Linked DNA regions of Homo sapiens: region 2 is linked to region 1. Evidence: promoter capture Hi-C in 16 types of primary human blood cells and fetal thymus (Javierre and others, 2016). All regions are on one chromosome and are shown on one strand. Each heading gives the region's core, a stretch centred on a gene start or on the middle of the fragment in contact. The rest is flanking DNA. Distances are from core to core; before and after follow the strand shown.

Region 1 (2,778 bases), core at 252-2,751:
TTAGGCACTTCACCGATTTTAACCCATTTTAACAACTATGTTTGGACCACAGGAGATGCTTATAATCTCCCTTTAAAAAAATTAGTTACATTTGGGCAAATGTTCTGTATACACAAAACTTCAAATATACCGTCTTGGTCTTCCTTAACATAATTGTGGACCTTTTGTCACCCTTTTTCTGGCCTGGCTTAGTTATTTATTGATGTACAGTACAGGACATACCGCATACAGTCACCCATTCCTATAAGGCAGTTTTTCGACAGAAGGGTATTCTTGCACCGTTAGGGGACACTGCTTTGCTATAAACCTCCTAGGCAGGATTACCGCCAGGCTCACCCCTAGTTTTATTCAGGGAACACTGTAGACTCTAGGATCGCGAATGCCATTCCAATAATACCATACACTTGTACGCCACATATTTAAGTTTTGGATACACTTTCATAAACTTTTCTATTCTAATTGTACCTTACAGGGAGAATAAGGAAGAGTAAGCGTGGTTTGTTTAAAGTTACAGATTTCAAATAGACAAGAAGCGACTAAGAGAAACTTGAGAATTCCCAAAGTAATCTTCCTCAAAATTTCAGTCATCAACCCAGTTCTCCCACGAAACGCTGCTTGGCGCCGCCTTCAGACAAACTTCTGTGTTGCTCGCACCAAGTTATCCCAACGCGGCTTGCGCTTGCTGCTGAAATGACCCTCCCTTCGGAGAGACCTGTTTTACCCTAAAAAGAAAAGGTGGCGCATTGCCATGAAGTCTCGAGTAGCAGCAGGCTTCACGCAGAACCCGCAGGAAATGATTTCCCAGCCGGTGCAAACCCGAAGACGGAAACTTCAGCCAAGAACTTATCAGCATATCCCTGAGGACGCAGCTGTCCCCTGACAGGCGACGCAAACGAAACGCCTCAGAAAGGGGCAAGATGACACGGTTAGGATCTCCCTGCCGGCGACACCGAGCGCGGCCACAGGTTGTAGCGCAGGACAGAAGGTTGAGTCATCTAGAAGGCGCCGACCCCTCCCACCCCCTCACCCGGAGCGCGGCAAAAGGCAAGGAGAACGCGTCGACCCTCGCAGCCAAGCCCCGGCAGCTGCCCGAGCGCTCGGCCTCGGGGACCCGCCGTCCTCCTCGCAGGGTTCCCGGGCGCCCAGGCCGAGGAGGGACTTACCCGTCCTTGGCGTGGCCGCCGCCCCCGAGGACCTGAGATCCCGGCTCGGCCTCCTTCCCATGCTTCTCCCGGCCGTGCTCTGCGTCCTCCCGGGCCCTCGCGACACCGGCGCACGTGGGAAGCACCAGTCGCCGGCTCCGCGCTCCCGCGGGGACCCCCCTCAGGGGCACGCCGTCCGCCCCAGCCCCGGGGTCCTCGCCGCGGGCGCTGACAGGGACGCCGCGGCCGCCCGCGCTCTGTCTCCCGTCAGGGTCACGGGCAAGAGGCAACCCCGGGACGCCCGGCAGCCTGCGAGAACATGCCGACTTTCTCTCTGACCGGCGCTAGCAACCGGAAGCAAAACCTCGCGGCCAAAGGAAAAGAAAAGGGGAGGGGGGGGCAAAAAAAGAAAGTGAAAACTGAAGTGAGGCGTCTCCCTCAGAGATGGGAACCAATCGCCGGGAAGAAACCAAGGCGCAGGCGCGGACCGAGGTCAGCGTCCACGCGGCGCTCGCGTCTCCCCTCTGCGCAGGCGTAAGGCCACAGCTCGCTCCTGATTAGGCGGCCGATCCCAACGAGCGCGTGGTGTCTCGCGTTGCCGACCCTTGACAGGAGGCGGAAGATGCCCTTGGGAAGAGGCGGGAGACGCTCTCTCGGCTGACCTACAGTGCTGTGGCTGTGGCCCACGTGGTCGCCTTCGGGCGCCTTCTCCCTTCTCAGCGTTTCATTCCCCAGGTGCTGCTGCAAGAACAGTTTATTTGTCTGGCCCGAATGCGACATTTTGGAAATTTTGCCCTTGTTTTAATCCATATAGTAGGTGTGGCTGTTACCCCCTAGGAAAGCATCTCTAGAAATTTATAACACATGCACAGAGAGCTAAGGTGACCATCAATAAATTCAGGTTTACCCTTGCCCATGATAAATAGTCATGCAAACATCATTTAACTGTAGGGACACCTTATGAGAGAGATGCCTCATTAGGCAATTTGGTCCTTGAGTGAACATCACAGAAACCTAGAAGCATAACCTACTACATACTTACACCATAAGCCATAGCCCATTACTCCTGGCTACAAACCCATGCTATATGTTATTGTACTGAATACTGTGGACAATTATAACACAATGGTAAGTATTTGTATAAGCATATCTAGACATAGAAAAGGTACAATAAAAATACAGTATGAAAAATAATGGTACACCTGTGTAAGGCATTCTCACGAATGGACCTTGCAGTACTGGGAGTTGCTCTGGGTGAGTCTGTGAGTGAGCAATGAGAATGTGAAGGTCTGGGACATTACTGTACACTCTTGTAGACTTTATAAACACTGTACACCTAAGCTACACTGAATTTATTTTTTTAAATTTTTTCATAATTAACCTTAGCTTACTGTAACTTTTTAACTTTTTAAAACTTTTAAAAAACTTTTTAAGACTCTTTTGTAATAACACTTAGCTTAAAACAAACACATTGTACACAAATATTTTCTTTATATCCTTAATCTGTAAGTTTTTTTCTATTTAAAAATTTTTTTAATTTACTTTTTAAACTTTTTTGTTAAAAACTAAGACACAAACACACATTAACCTGGGCCTACACAGGGTCAGGATCATCAACATCATTGTCTTCACCTCC
Region 2 (2,831 bases), core at 294-2,793, 2.1 Mb before region 1:
TAACAAGTGGGACAATCTATACAACTGAGAATTCAACTACAGTGACCTTTTAATTCCCATGAATGTTCTTTTTCCATATTAGAGAAAAAAAAATCTGACTTCCAAGGCCAAGCCACCAAAAATTTTATGTGGCTAATTCACATCAGATATCATTCTGAAAATCTCGTATATTACTATCAGTTATTTGCTTAATGAAAAACCTATTTATTTCAACTAATGCTTTATGGTCCCTTCATATAAATTAGGATACGAAAATCTAGTTTAGCACTGTAGCGCCTTAGAAATCCTCCACACTGTTAAGAGCAGGGAATTGCTACGACACAGCCTAGAATCCCCTTAGCAGCGTGTCTGGAATTCTTCCAGATTCCGTCAAGCTTCAAAACTGAACAGCACCACCCACAAACCAACTTTTACCTGCCCATTCCCGGGCCTTCTAATATGCACTTCCCCCAGCCCAGGTCCCCCTACCCGGAACTAATGTTTAAAATTCTCGAGGCTCGTGGCACCCTTTAGTTGCATGTCAGTTAACAAATGCCACTTAAAAGCCCACCGAACTCCTCCCCCAGGACCTGGGGGCAATTTCATGACCTTGCAGGGTTACGGTTTCAGCAAGTGGTTTCAAGGTAGTGCTAGGTGTCCTTCCCTTCCCCGCCCTCAGACAGATCTGTACGGTCCCTTCTGCACCAAAACCACCCTCAGAGGCATCTAGGATGTTCGCCTTTGCTGTTGCAGCACCCAGCAAAGCGTCTGCAACACGGGAGGTGCTCGACGGCCGCGCTCTCTGACTCGATCGAATCTTAAAGGGTCACTCTGTCCAGCACTACAGGGTTTCAAAGGGCGTCAAGGACAAAAAGCACGACTTAACCTTCCCCTGGGCTATTGCTCAGGCTCCCGTCACCTTGCAGGCCCTGAGACTGGGGGCCTGGCTTGCAGTGGAAGTGGAAGCTCAGGAAGTGCTGATTAGCTGAGGGAACTCAAGACCGCCCAGACGTCAATTTGGACTCAGGCCGCAGTCCCGAGGTCCCAGGTGGCCCTCCGACCTCAGGGAACCGGGCGGGACCTTGCTCCGCCGGAGCCCGGCCCTGCGCACACCTTGCCCGACCTCAGAGCCGCTTCCTGCAGCCCCCGCTACCCGGCGCCTCCGACGGGCCAGGGGCCCAGCTAGGCCCTGCGACCCCACATCTGCCCCCGCGCCCATCTCCTCCTCCCTGCCCCGTGCCCAAGCTCTTCCATCCCTTGCGGTCCTGCCGATCTTCCCGCAAGCTGCCATACCATTGCGGCTGCAAGGTCCAGGCCGACAGCCCAGCGACACCCGCGCGAGAGAACATGGTAGCCACAGCCCTGCTGAAGGTCGGTCAGGCAGGCCTCAGCGCGCATGCGCCGAAGCTCCCCAGCGCGCCCCTCCCACCTTGCTCTCTTCTTCAGTCTCGTTTCTTCGCGCTACGGCGAGGGGAGTCTCGCGACCGTTGCAACCCAGTCTTCCCAGGCCCCACCTCCTTCCGCCTCTCAGCTGGGATTTGTCCCGCCCACCGCCGCCAGCCCGGTTCCGTTTCCGGCTGGCTGAGTACTGGGGTCCAGAAAGTGATCGCTGCCGTGGTCGCCATGGGGAAGTCGGATTTTCTTACTCCCAAGGCTATCGCCAACAGGATCAAGTCCAAGGGGCTGCAGAAGCTACGCTGGTATTGCCAGATGTGCCAGAAGCAGTGCCGGGACGAGGTGAGTGGGCCCGGAGTGGCCCCGTCTTCCCAGGAGGGCCCCTGGCAATCCAGGATCAGGTCCTGGACGCGGGGCTGAGGGCGCGGGGCTGGGGCTCCCGGGGTCCGGGTCGTGAGGCTTCTGAGGTCTGCAGTGGGCGAGTCAACTACTCAGCGCACGAGAGCCGTCCCTCCCCGCAGCCCCCGGGCCCAGCGGGCAGCCTGTGTTCTGCGACCCCTCATTCCTCCCCAGTCCGATCCCCACCACCAAAGAAATGAAATCAGAAAAGGTTTTGCACCCCTCACAGGGGCGGGGATACTGCAATACTAGACGCCCGGGCAATGCCAGTAACAGTCATCAGCTCTTACTTGACTTGACTCTTAAGAGAAACAGGGTGGTTAGGATTCACTCCTCTTTTGGGATCAGGTGAAAAAGGAGAGCTAAGCTCTTCCACACTACTCATCTAGCAAGCATTTATTGAGCACCTACACTGTACCGGGCACAGAATAATATTGTGGTTAAAATTATGGATTTATCTGGTTTATGGATATATCAGACTGTCAAAATTTAAAGTCAAGCAGGGCCACTTACCAACCGTGTGGTCTTGGGCAAGTTATTTACTTATATTCCCCTTTACTTATCTGTAAAGAGGGAATAATAATTTCACCTACTTGTAGGATTGTCGCTGAGTTTTAAATGAGTGAAGTATATATAGAGTGGCTCAAGGAGTCTGGGCAGATCTCGAAAAGCCTTATATGGCTACACTATGGAATTTACACTTTTCCCCATTAAAGAGGTGGTTGATTGAATGCTGTGCAGGCTAGTGATGTGATCATATTTTTCTCCGGAGATTGGACTGGATTGGGTAAGGGTGGAAGAACACTGAGGCAATTGGAATAATCTAATCCAGTGTTTCTGCAAGTGAAGGAAGAGGTATTTTAGGTAGGACTCATACTAATATTGATACAGTTACTCTCTTTAGTTCTATTAAGGAATACCTGTATATGCATTATCTAATGTCTTAGTCTGCTTGGACTGCCATATAAAGTGCAGTAGACTGGGTGGTTTAAATGACAGAAATTTATTTCTCACAGTTCTGGAGGCTGGGAAGTTCAAGATCAAGGTGCTGGCATGGT

The links. Contacts are between HindIII fragments. The CHiCAGO score rates a contact against its expected background, and 5 or more counts as called.
Region 2: the fragment with the promoter of KIN here is called in contact with the fragment with the promoter of TASOR2 in region 1 in 1 of 17 cell types (monocytes); the score reaches 6.2 in monocytes.

The regions. Positions count from the first base shown.
Region 1 is chr10:5,683,561-5,686,338 of GRCh38, reverse strand. TASOR2 (transcription activation suppressor family member 2) reads right to left here and starts at 1,501. Exons shown (of 22, transcript NM_001321783.2): 1 at 1,164-1,501. RefSeq lists enhancers at 658-837, 1,458-1,567, 1,708-1,947 and silencers at 1,058-1,107, 1,148-1,407. The HindIII fragment of the contact is 4,285 bases long and covers 1-2,778 here.
Region 2 is chr10:7,786,705-7,789,535 of GRCh38, reverse strand. It overlaps KIN (Kin17 DNA and RNA binding protein), which reads left to right and starts at 1,543. Exons shown (of 13, transcript NM_012311.4): 1 at 1,543-1,716. The coding sequence starts at 1,603. ATP5F1C (ATP synthase F1 subunit gamma) reads right to left here and starts at 1,359. Exons shown (of 10, transcript NM_001001973.3): 1 at 1,273-1,359. The coding sequence starts at 1,328. RefSeq lists enhancers at 275-818, 1,271-1,590. The HindIII fragment of the contact is 3,793 bases long and covers 377-2,831 here.